Linked DNA regions of Homo sapiens: region 1 is linked to region 2. The links are contacts of gene promoters, found by promoter capture Hi-C in blood cells and fetal thymus (Javierre and others, 2016). All regions are on one chromosome and are shown on one strand. The core of a region is centred on a gene start or on the middle of the fragment in contact, and the rest is flanking DNA. Distances in the headings are between cores, read along the strand shown. Region 1 overlaps EDA (ectodysplasin A). Region 2 holds the start of OTUD6A (OTU deubiquitinase 6A).

What was found. Contacts are between HindIII fragments. The CHiCAGO score rates a contact against its expected background, and 5 or more counts as called.
Region 1: a contact is called between a fragment that was not itself captured here and the fragment with the promoter of OTUD6A in region 2, in 1 of 17 cell types (M2 macrophages). The highest score is 5.0, in M2 macrophages.

The regions. Positions count from the first base shown.
Region 1 is chrX:69,616,888-69,623,715 of GRCh38, forward strand. All of the region lies in intron 1 of EDA (ectodysplasin A), which reads left to right. Among named protein-coding and RNA genes, the nearest start is that of EDA, 4.2 kb to the left of the region's middle. The HindIII fragment of the contact is 2,110 bases long and covers 2,077-4,186 here.
Region 2 is chrX:70,060,064-70,066,380 of GRCh38, forward strand. It overlaps OTUD6A (OTU deubiquitinase 6A), which reads left to right and starts at 2,394. Exons shown (of 1, transcript NM_207320.3): 1 at 2,394-4,116. The coding sequence starts at 2,462. The coding sequence ends at 3,328. The HindIII fragment of the contact is 21,287 bases long and covers 1-6,317 here.

The sequences.
Region 1 (6,828 bases), core at 1,882-4,381, 440 kb before region 2:
TAATCCAGACTCCCTGGGGACCCCTTGACTTGGAAAGTCTCGCGCGCGCCCGCGGCCCCTGGCTGCGGGCTGCCTCGAGAAAAGTTGGCGACGCTCCCGTCGAGGAGGTGCCTGCGCTGCCCCCCGGCCGACTAACGGCTTGGCCCTTCTGCTCGTGATGAGGTTCTCTGCCCGCGGTGCTTGTTTTTTCGTGTCTAGAGCTGATGCCAGAACCAGCAGGCTCCCCTTTGGAGTTGGAGCTGTAAACAGCTGTAATAACTGTTCCACGCCCGCCCGTTGAAACAACTTTTAACCGCATTTTCAGCGCGGGTCCTTGTGCGCTGACCAGAACGTGGGCTTGTTCACACTTACCTGCAATTTGAGACTGATTGTCCTCGGCGTTCTAGTGAGGATCAGCGCCCCTGAGGAATTCTGGTAGAAATATGCCGTCTTGCTAGACAACTTCTGAACAGCAATTTTAAAAATCTATGGAAATAAAACTCACCCTTTGCATGCCGGTTCTGATTCTTAAGCGGGGTAGGTGTGCGGTGGGAAGGGTGGGTGGGAAGCGCTTTTACTACTGTTAGCTTGAGAACGGGAATCTGCCAATGGAATAATTACTCAGGACTCGTCCCCCAAGAGCAGTTTTGTTTGTTTTTGCAATCTTTATGGTGTTTGTGCCCTAATAAGCAAACTATTAGCTTTGGTGTTTGTTTTCTATTCTATTCTTTCTAGCTTTTTATTCAAGTAAATTTCGTTCACTTAACGTAAATACTGTCTTGGTTGCCATATGTGAAACTTAGGAGAAGCATCCAAGGATCCTTTCGAGGTGGCTAAAGAATAATAATAAAATTGTACCTCTTAGGGAAGAGAGCAAGTTGTACAAATAAGTTCCTTGAGGTGAGGGACCCAAGCCTTCTATATTTACTGCCACATCCAGAGTCATTGTCACAACTCTGTAAACATTATTTGTGCCACTTTGACCTCCCATCTAAAGTGGTACGCTTGATAGAGACATCATATTCATGATAATAGTGTAATGTTAGGACTGATACTTAAAAAAAAAAAAAAAGATGTGCATTGTAAAGTTGCCCTGAGCCTTAAAATGTCTTACTAGCACACTCCAATTTATATAACAGCTTATCAAAGAAGAGAATCAGCAGACATGCTTCTCATACTTGAAACTTTAAACATTGTAGCTAAACGATAATTAACTAGGATTCTGACTCCTTTATTTATCTACTGCCACTCCCCCCACACCCCAATGCCCAGCAGAAGTATTTAGCAGCTGAACATTGATATTCTGTGAAAAGATGAAAGAATTAAACTTCTTTAATCAAATGTTGGCCAATACTTTTTGGCATTCAGGATGGACAGAGCCATTTTTATAGACTGAGGATTAGCAGAACAGCTGTACTGTAAGGTTTCTGTGATGGCATGAAACTCTTACAGGTGTATAATGGCATTTAGTTACCTACCCTTTGTGTGGCACTAAAATAGTTCTGTCTAGATTTAAACACAGCTTCCTATCTTCTGTCTTTTATTCTTTCTGTTTTAATATTTTTGAGCAATAGAAGCAAGGATACTAGCTCTTTACATTTGTTGACATCAATTGGAATCAGTTTCCTAGAGTTATGAAGGGCTTATATGAGTCCATTTCGTTTGATTCCCTTGGGAAACATAGGCCCTAAAGGGAAAGTGACTTGCCCAAGGTCACATAACTAGAGTCAAAACTGGGATGATAGTTGCTCTAACTCCTAGTTGGGTGCCCATTCCCCCAACTACCTCCTGGGACCTTTTGCGAGGGAGCAAGATGGAGCTCCACATTAGAACTTTTGCAAAGTAGAGGGCTCAGCTCTGCATCATTTTGTTCTACTCTGCCTGTATTTTGACCACAGTAAGTTTAACCGTGTGTTCCTTATTCTTCCTGAACTTCACTTTCAGATTTGGAGTATACTTTGAAGGAATTTTAGCCCAAATTCAACTTGTTTATTTTAAGTTGTTCAACTTAAGTTTATCTTATCTTGTATATTAGTTTTAGTATACAAAAATAACTTTTTAAAAAAGTTGATTGGGTATTAAATTAATACTGCTACAAGCTTGGTTAAAATTTCTAGTGCCCTGGTGCACCCTCTGCTGGCTTTACAGTGACATTTAATTTTCAGTATCTGCTGACACTCAGAATTCTACATTGTGCTGACAGATTCTGATTCAGTAAATAAGGAAGTAAACAGCCTTGTGGGATTTGGCCACGTAGGTCATATTTTTATATTTTAGTTTTTAAACACAAACAACTGCTGTTACAGCAAATCTTGGATGGAGAGGAAGAAAGATAAAAATATACACCCTTCAACGGGCAGTACATTCAGGTTTCTTACCAGTTTATCTGTAAGGAGTGAAGGCAAGCTGATGAGAGTAAACTGCAGGAAGCTCTCATGAGACCAAGTGGGCAGAACAGTCAGAGACACTTCATGCAGGTAGGCAAAAGTAAACCTATCCATACTTATGAGATGATGGGCTCTGGGCTCTCAGTTATGACTCAAGAAAGGGACCTGGAAATCACTGTAGATGTATGTATATCATCTGTCAATTTAAAAACTTTTTAAGCAGGGCACACAAGGAAGTTAGGGCAGGTAGGATACAGAGCAGAGAGATCAGCACAGTTCTCCATGTGAAATGTTAGAAAAGTCTCCCTGGTGGGGACACACTTGCTGATGATGAAGTGAGAGAGTCACATCAGACCTTCCGTAATCAATCATCTCCTTCAGCTGGAGCAACCAAGTAGCTGAGATTTGTCTGGATAGTTGGTGGAGATTATCTCAAGAGCAAGGGATATCTCATTTGTGTCTGAATTAGGACAATATACAGTAATATGATCGTCAGAGTAAAAAACTAAAAATCACTGTTGATCATTCTGTGGAGATGTTGCGCCGGTTGTGATTGTGGTCCTCAAAGGCCAAGAATGTAGTGGGTATCATCAGGAAGGGTGTCAAAAACAACAAAACAAACCACTTACAAAACACTTATTTTTTCCATGTACAAGATCAAAAGCAGATTGGCTTCTACAATCAGACAGGAAATTCTGGTGGCTGCTCCTCAAGAAAAGCCTAACAGCTGATAAAAGTCCTCAAAAACCCCATTAAATTGATCAAAAGGATGAAGGGATTTTCTAGTTGGTTTTTCAGTCTGGATAGAAAGAGGTTGAAGGAGGAATATGATCAAAGTCTACCAAACCATGAGCGAGATGAATATGATTAATATATTGGTGTAACGTAACAATCCAGTTCAATAAATAGAAAGCCTGCTGTGCCAGACACAATGTTAAGTATTAGACACCTTTTAATGTTTGAAAAATTATTTTCAAGAGGAGGCAAATAAAGGTAGTATCTTATTCAACTCATTGTCTCAAGTAATAGTCAAAATTATGGGTAGATCAATACAGATTTACTTAGAACTGTTAGGGCTATTTGGAGTATGTTCCTAATTATTTGAAGTGATGTCATAGATGTCAACCTTAAAGTTCTACAAAACATTGCTTGACATAACTAGATAGACCATTAGTGTATCCAGAGTTGACATTACCTGTGTTAAGGCTCTTCGATCAAGAACATAACTAGGAATCATTCGAGGTGATTCAAGGTGAGCACAATGAATAAATCCAAGGATTTTTTTTTTTAGGGAGGTGGGATCTAGATAAAATACCTTTACTGTGGGTTTGAATACAGAACTTTTGATCAACTTGCTTCATTATTCCCATCGCATTTTCTCTCTCACTAACTCTGCTGCAACCCACCCATCATATCCTGTCTTAGAATCATTCTTTAGTTGTTATTGCTGTTGTTTTCAAATACATTTTATGTCTTTACATTAGAGCTCCTTAGAAATCTGCCTTCATTTTTGTCTTTCTCCATAATGCCTGACACAGTGCTAGTTACAGTTACTGTACTCAAATACTTGTTGAGTTGAATATTATTTTGGGACTTTGGAGGTGTTTATGTGAAACAAAGACATTTTCTCTTTCTATAACAGGCCTGTTTTCCTCAGGTCTTGCTAAGCCTGTGACCTGTCAGCTATGCTTAGGTGAGTAAATAGTTCCACTGGAAATGTTTCACTGATTTCTAGAATAATTAGAAAGTGAAATGGAGAAGAGCCTTAACCACGTGGTCAGTCTCCCAGTTTCACACCTTCTCTCTAAAATGGTGCAAAAAGCTTCCTGTAATATATTGTTTGATGTTTTGTTTTATTTGCTTTTAGGTCTCATGTCTTTCTTTCTATCTTAGATCTTGTGAAAAAATAATCTGTAATTTATCTGTAACTACCTTATAGAGAAGATCTCTTTAAAGTAAAGAACCTCTGAAGCCATTTAATTCCCAAGAACATTACCAAGAGAAACCACCTTGCCTGTAGAGGACCATTTTATCTAACTCCTCTGTAAATACTCAGGACTTAGCTTTTCATTTCATTTCTTTCTTTTATTAAAAATCTTTTCTATTGAAGTATAACTCATACACAGAAAAGTATATAAATCATATTTGTACAATTTGATGAATCATTACAAAGTGAATATACTCACGTCACCAGCACCCAGGTCAAGAAATAGAACATTATTATATGCCACAACTCCTCCTTACACCCTATTGTTATCACTATATCCTCCTCACTCTCTCAAGTTCTGACATCATAGATTAGTTTTTTTATCTTTCTCCATAGTGCCTGACATAGTGCTAGTTGGATTAGTTTATTAGTTTTGTTCATTTTGAACTTTATATAAATGAAATCAAACAGTGTGTATTCTTTTGGATCTGGTGTTTTTTGCTCAATACTGTTTTCGTGACATCCATTCAGGTTGTTGCTTGTGGCTGTAGTTTTTTATTTGTATTTTTTGTGTGTGTGAGACAGAGTCTTGCTCTGTCACCCAGGTTGGAGTGCAGTGGCATGATCACAGCTCACTGCAGCCATAACCTCCCAGGAACAAGCGATCTTCCAACCTCAGCTTTTTGAGTAGCTGGGACCACAGGCACATGCCACCATGCCTCATTTTTAATTTTTTATAGGCTCATTTTTAATTTTTTTATAGAGACAGGATCTCTCTATGTTGCCCAGACTGGTCTTGAACTCCTGGCCTGAAGCAATACTCCCACCTCAGTGTACCAAAGTGATGGGATTACAGATGTGAACCACCATGCCCAGCCATTTATTTGTATTTTTGTATATTATTTCGTTGCTCGAATATACCACAGTCTATTTACTCTATTTTTAATGAATTTGTGGATTGTTTCCAGTCTGGGGCTATTACGGATGCTGATGTTGTGAATATTATTATACATGTCTTTTGGTTACATATGCTTGAATTTCTATTGCTTGTATAGATCAGAGTTGCTGGGTCATGGAGGATGCATATTTTTGACATTATTGATAATGACAGTTTTTCTAAGTCATTGTATCAATTTACATGCTCACCAGCAATGTATGAGAATTTCAGCTGTTTCACATTCTTACTAACACTTGGTATTGCCAGTCTTTTTAGCCATAGCTGTTCTGGTGGGTGGCTTTGTAGTAATATCCGTTGATTTTAATTGGCATTTCTCAGAAGACTGATGAGGTTGTGCTCTTTTTCATGTTTATTATGCATTTGCATATCTTCTGTGAAATGCCTATACAAGTTTTTTGCCCATTTTTCTATTAGTCTGTCTTTTTCTTATAGATTTGTAGGAATTCTTTATATACTCTGAATATGAACTATTTTTGTATTTTTTATGTTGTAAGCCATTCCCAAATCTGTGATTTACCTTTCTTTATGGTATCCTTTGATGAACAGAAGTTTTTAATTTTAATGTGTTTAATTTTTTAGTATTTTCCTTTATGGATAGTGTTTTCTGTGTCCCATTTAAGAAATATTTTCTTACCTTGAAATTGTAGATATTCTCCCATATTATCTTCTAGAAGCTTTATGTTTTTGACATTTACATTTAGGTCTATACTCCACTTGAAATCGATTTTTGTGTATGCTAAGATACAGAAACTAAGCTTCATTTTTTAAAATATAGATATCCAACTGATCCAGTACCATTAATTATAAGGACTGTCTTTCCCCCAGTCCTCTATAGCATCACCTTTGTCATAAATCAGGTGCCTGTATATATGCAAGATTGTTTCTGAACTGTTTATTCTATTCTGTTGGTCTCTTTGTCATTACATCACTACCACAATCTTAATTACTGGACTTTATTATTACCTGGTAAAGCAACTCCTTTCACCTTGTTCCTCTTATTTAAAAGTATCTTGGATATTCTTGGCCCTTTGCATTTAGAATCAGCTTGTCATGTTCCACAAAAAAGAAACGTGCTGAGATTTTTATTGGGATTGCATTGCATCTAAAAATCAATTTAGAGGGAACTCACCATTTTATGGTATTCAGTTTTCCAATCCATGAACATGCCCAGCAGATTTGGTGTTTGGTGAGTGCCTTCTTCTTGATCCATAGAATGACACACTCTTGCTGTATCCTCACGTGGTGGAAGGGATAAATGCACTTCCTTGGACCTATTTTATAAGGACATTAATCTCATTTACAAGGGCTCTGCCCTCATTATTTAATTGCCCCCTAAAAGCCTCATCAAATACCATCACATTGGTGATGATATTTCAACATATGAATTTTGGGGGGAACACAAACATTCAGACCATAGCAAACCTATTTTAGACATTTTCTCAGCATCCTTTATGTCTGTTACATACTTTTCTCTGTATTCTATCCTTCTTTTTCTCTCTATACTTCATTCTAGGTATTTTCTTTTTTTTCTTTTTTTTTTTTTGAGACAGTTGCATCTACATACTTTATTTTCAAAA
Region 2 (6,317 bases), core at 1,144-3,643:
ACAGAACACAAGATAAACAAAAAAAGTCAATTGTATTTTTATATACTAGCAATGACCATGTGAACATTGTAAATGTTCACATTATAAAAATACAATACCATTTACAATCACTCAAAAAAAGAGAAATGCTTAAGTGTAAATCTAACAAAATATGCACAGGATTTATATGCTGAAAATCATGCAGTGTCACTGAAAGAAATCAATGAAGATCTACGTAAATGGAGATACATACCCAGGTGTTCAAGGACTGGAAGACTCAACATAGTAAAGATGTCAATTCTCCCCAAATTGATATTCAGCTTGAACACGATTCCTACAAAAATCCTGGCCAGGCGCGGTGGCTCACGCCTGTAATCTCAGCATTTTGGGAGGCTGAGGTGAGAGGCTCGCTTGAGCCCAGGAGTTCGAAACCAGCCTGAGCAACATAGTGAGGCCCCGTTTCTACAAAAAGTAAAAAAAAAAAAAAAAAAAAAAAAGTTAGCTGGATATGGTGGTGTGTGTAGTCATCCCGGCACTTTGAGAGGCCAAGGCAGGGGGATCGCTTGAACTCAGGAGTTCAAGACCAGCCTGGCCAACATGGTGAAACCCTGTCTCTACTAAAAATACAAAAAGTATCCGGGTGTGGTGGTGTGCGCCTGTAGTCCCAGCTACTCAGGAGGCTGAGACATGAGACTTGCTTGAACCCAGAAGCTGGAGGCTGCAGTGAGCCGAGATCATGCCACTGCACTCCAGCCTGGGTGACAGAGCAAGACTCCGTCTCAAAAAAAAAAAGAAAAAAAAAGGAAGGAAGGAAACCAAGGAAGGAAGAAGAAAGAGAGTAAGAGAGAGAGAGAGAGGAAGAAAGAGAGTGAGAGAGAGAGAAAGAAAATAGGCAAATGAAGGGCTGAGCATGGTGTCTCACATCTGTAATCCCAGCACTTTGGAAGGCAGAGGTGGAGGACCACTTGAGCCCAGACTGGAGTGCAGTGCCGCTATCTTGGCTCACTACAACTTCTGCTTCCCAGGCTCAAGCTATCCTCCCACCTCAGCCCCCAGGAGTAGTTGGGACTACAGGCACACACCACCACACCTGGCTAATTTTTGTATTTCTAGTAGAGTTAGGGCTTCACCATGTTGCCCAGGCTGGTCTGGAACTCCTGACCTCAAGACATCCTCCCACCTTGGCCTCCCAAAGTGCTGGGATTACAGGCGTGAGCCACCGCATCTGGCAAAAAAAAAAAAAAAAAAAAAATTCCCCAAAATTAGCCAAGTATGGTGGTGCCTGTAGTCCCAGCTACTCAGGATGTTGAGGCAGGAGGATCACCTGAGCCTGAGCCCAGGAGTTTGAGGCTGCAATGAGCCATGATCACGCCACTGCATTCCACCCTCGGTGACAGAGCTAGACTCCACCCCCCCCAAAAAAAAGAGAGAGAAAATAGGCAAATGACATAAACATTTTACTGAAAAGGATATGGCATAGATGACAAATGAGCACATGAAAAAAGGAACATCATTAGCCATCAGGGAACTTCACACTTATCAAAATGGCTAAAATAAAAACTTGTGACTGGGCACAGTGGCTCATGCCAGCACTTTGGGAGGCCGAGGCGAGTAAATCACCTGAGGTCAGGAGTTCCAAGACCAGCCTGGCCAACACGGCGAAACCTCGTCTCTACTAAAAATACAAAAATTAGCCGGGCGTGGTGGCAGGCGCCTGTAGTCCCGGCTACCCGGGAGGCTGAGGCAGGAGAATCGCTTGGACCTGGGAGGCAGAGGTTGCAGTGAGCTGAGATTGCACCATTGCACTCCAGCCTGGGCGACAGAGCGAGACTCCGTTCCCCGCGCCCCCCCCTCAAAAAAAGAGTAAACTGAAAGGACTGTGTTTGCAGGAATGTAAGGAAATGTCCTTGTTCTGATGCACAAGTTAATGGTTCCCTGGTGAAGGGACCTGAAAGACTGGAGAAAAACGCACTGCTTCCTCAACAGTAGGGGCAATGCCAAGTCCAGGGTTAGAGCACATTCAGCGGTGTAGTATCTGTCATGTGGCTGTCAGGCATGGCTACTGCCTGCATTGTGTGCAGACTTGGAAATGAAGTCGGCTCTCAATCAGCGAAAGACTCTACAGGCCCAACTGCCACACACATTGCAGGAAGGCCATATTTGAATCCCGCCAAAAACCTTTGCTGTGGGGTCCAATGGGCTCATACTTCCGGTCTCCCAACAGCCAATCCTAGCACTGGGCATTTGCGGGTGGCCCAGCAAGTGGCCTAGCACTTGCGGGGGCGTGGCCATGGAGACACAGTGACCAAAGGCAGAGAAGAATGCGAATGGGGGAGGGGAAGCGGAGGCTGAGGTGAGCCTAGAGCGGCGGTTAGAGCCGGTGAGGTGAAAGAGAGCGACCGTTAGGACAGGCTGAGGACTTCTGGTCTGTTCGGTACTTGAACTGCCAGCAAATTTCAACTCCCGCTTGCCATTCAACATCATGGATGATCCGAAGAGTGAACAGCAGCGCATACTGCGCCGCCACCAACGCGAGAGGCAGGAGCTGCAGGCCCAGATCCGGAGCTTAAAAAACTCGGTCCCCAAGACCGACAAGACGAAAAGAAAGCAGTTGCTCCAAGACGTGGCCCGCATGGAGGCCGAGATGGCTCAGAAGCACCGGCAGGAGCTGGAGAAGTTCCAAGACGACAGTAGCATTGAATCTGTCGTCGAAGACCTGGCCAAGATGAATCTGGAAAACCGGCCTCCCCGCTCCTCCAAAGCCCACAGAAAGAGAGAAAGAATGGAGTCCGAGGAGAGGGAGCGCCAGGAGAGCATCTTCCAGGCTGAGATGTCGGAGCACCTGGCCGGCTTCAAGCGCGAGGAGGAGGAGAAGCTCGCCGCCATCCTGGGAGCCAGGGGTCTGGAGATGAAAGCGATCCCGGCCGACGGCCACTGCATGTACCGCGCCATCCAAGACCAGCTGGTGTTCAGCGTGTCTGTGGAGATGCTGCGCTGCCGCACCGCCAGCTACATGAAGAAGCACGTCGACGAGTTCCTGCCCTTCTTCAGCAACCCCGAGACCAGCGACTCCTTCGGCTACGACGACTTCATGATCTACTGCGACAACATCGTGCGCACCACGGCATGGGGAGGCCAGCTGGAGCTGAGGGCCCTGTCGCACGTCCTGAAGACCCCCATCGAGGTGATCCAGGCCGACTCGCCCACCTTGATCATCGGGGAGGAGTACGTCAAGAAGCCGATCATCCTGGTCTACCTGCGCTATGCCTACAGCCTCGGCGAGCACTACAACTCCGTGACACCGCTCGAGGCCGGCGCCGCCGGGGGCGTGCTCCCGCGTCTCCTGTAGGCCCCAAGGCGCTGAGCAGCCCCGGGAAACTGTCGCCGTCGCCGCATCTCCTCAGTAGGCTCAGTTTATTTTCCCCTTTTGCTTTTCTCTGTTTTTCTTTTCCTTCCTTTTAATCAAAACTACCCGCCCCCGCCCCGCCCCCGCTTTCCTAACCTTGCTGCTTTCACAGGGTGGGAAACGAAATTCGAGGGAAATTCCCCGGAAATATGAGGGAAATCTCTGCATTGCACCACCAGAGGGGCATAAATTTGAAAGTTCTAACCTCTTCTTGCCCTTAAGGGTCTTTTACCTCCCTCACCAACTAAGATTTGGTCATGTTGCGTATAACTTCACCACAAAAATGGAAATATTGGCCGGGCGCGGTGGCTCACGCCTGTAATCCCAGCACTTTGGGAGGCCGAGGCGGGCGGATCACGAGGTCAGGAGTTCGAGACCAGCCTGGCCAACATGGTGAAACCCCACCTCTACAAAAAATACAAAAATTAGCCGGGCGTGGTGGCAGGCACCTGTAGTCCCAGATACTCGGGAGGCTAAGGCAGGAGAATCGCTTGACGGGAAGCGGAGGTTGCAGTGAGCCGAGATCGTGCCTTTGCACTCCAGCGTGGAAGACAGTGAGACTCCGTCTCAAAAAAATGAAAAATTAGCCAGGCAGGTTGGCGGGGGCCTGTAATCCTAGCTACTTGGGGTGCTGAGGCAGGAGAATCAACTGAACCCGGGAGGCGGAGGCTGCAGTGGGCCGGGATCGTACTACTGCACTCCAGCATGGAAGACAGCGAGACTCCGTCTCCAAAAAAAAAAAAAGAAAAAAAGGAAATGTTAAGTTTCATGTGTTCTGGGAAAAATAAATCTAGTAGACTAGCTCGGGGAGTCTTCAGGTTTTCCTATGAATGTCTTGGATTACTTAGACAAAATTGGAGTTTATGTGATCAAAATGCCTTGTGAAGGCCTTTTGCTGAGTTTTGGGGGGAAAGATTGCCATGGTTTGCTATTTACTTAAGCTAGACTACTCAGGAGATGTCTCAAGTTATGAACAAGAGATCCGCTAGTACTTTGTTTTGTTTTCTTTTCATCAAAACTTGTGTGGTTCCTAATTAATTTTAGTTTCTCCCATGTTTGCTAATTCTAAATAACAGCATTTGTTAAAACATGTAAGGTAAATCTGTTAAATAGATAAAGTAAATTTAGATAAACTGATAGGCTAGATAAGGTTTACTCTAAGATGTGAAAGATCTGAACTTAATTTCCTTTACTAAAGGTAGGAAGAGATAGGACTTTATTCAAATAGTTGATACGTTTCATTATCTTTACAACTGGTATAAAGAAAAAAGAGACACATTGATAGGTAATTTACTTACTCTAAGGGGTGAAGATCTGAATCGAGTAAGTTTCCTTTATTCTTAGAGATATAAAGGTGTATGAATTTATTCAAGTACTTGATTGACCTTGTTATATCATCTGGTATGAAGTGTGAAAGATATGAATGTAACAACTTTCCTTATTTCTTAGAGATACAGAAATATCTAAAAAGATTCTTTAAAATATTAAAGTTTTATTCTATTTTGTTACATCAAAAGTGAACAATATACTTTTGTTATTTGAGACTTGTTAATATCCTTGAATTTTCCAAAAGAATATAAAATGAAATGATTTACAGTCAACAACTTATGAAAATTTTAATCTTTACTTTCTGTAATTCAGTGAGATTAATTTTGGAAATTCTTTCTACATTCCAAATGCTCTAAGATAAAATATATATGTTTTTGAAAGTTTTTAAACATGTAGTTTGTTCAAAAATAAAAACCATTTAAAAAATACCTGCTTCTCTGTTTTTGTGTAGCTAACTTCATATAGAGTTTATATCCCAGGATCTACTTAAGCAAAGGAATCCTGGAGGGTTAGGGAGCATAGGCCTGTTGCGGGTGGCGGGGTGGTGGTTGCTGACTGGGGACAGGGGCAAAGACTGCTGAAGGGCTCTAGAAATGGGAAAGGTGCTCTACTTCAGTGGGCTGCATAGGGTCAGGGAAGGGGGTGACAAGCTAAAAGAAGAGGCCTGGCTAGGGTAGGGGACCTTCATGGACAAAGAGGCCCAGCTGGGTAGCGGGGGCACAGGCTAGGAAAGAAGTCCTGGCTGAGGGAGGATGCCTGCAAAGGGTCCAGGCTGGAGGCTGGGGCATGGACTGGTGAAGGGTTCCTGGTAGGAGAAGGTGGCCCAGCTGGGGCAGGCTGGAGAAGGAGAGGAAGGGGGCCTGGCTTGGGAAGGGAAGCTGTTTGGGAACTGGGCTACAGTCTGGGGAAGGGGTCCTGGCAGGGGTGGAGTTGGGTGGAGAGAAGGGCAGGAAAGGGGGCTGGGTCAAGAAAGAGTCACTGTCTATACAAGGAGGAATAGGCTGACCAGGGGGCAACTCAAAGGGACAAGATGCCTCGTAGCAACGGGTCTTTGGCTATTGAATGGGGAAATGGCTCTGGCAAACTGCCTGGCCAGGGGAATTGAAGGGAATTGGGAAATTGGGCCTGGATAGGGAAGGGAGCCTCACTGGGGAGGGCACACAGGCTGAAGAAGTGCCATATGGTGTGGAGGGGTCATTGAAGAAGGAAGCCTGGCTGGGATGGGGGGAGGGGGGACCTGGCTGCAAGGGTGGGGGAATGCTGGCTGGGAAAGGTGGCCCGGCTGATGATGCAGGCTTAGGTGACCAAAGGGGCCAAGCATGGGAGTGGCCTTGGCAGGGCAAGGAGGAAGATCTTGGGGAAGAGGTAACAGGCTAGGGAGGCACTGGCAGAGGAAGGGGACAAGGCTGGGCAAGGGAACCTGGCTGTGGACTGGGACACGGGGTGGGGAAGGAAGCCTGGCTGGGAGGGACATAATAGGGTGAGCGGGGGTGGGGGGAGCAGGTTAGGGAAGAACTGGCTGGTCAAGGGAAGGAGGCCCAGTTGAGTTAGGAGCCAAAGGATGAGAAAGGTGTTCCTAGCTGTTAATGAGAGGAAAGGCTGG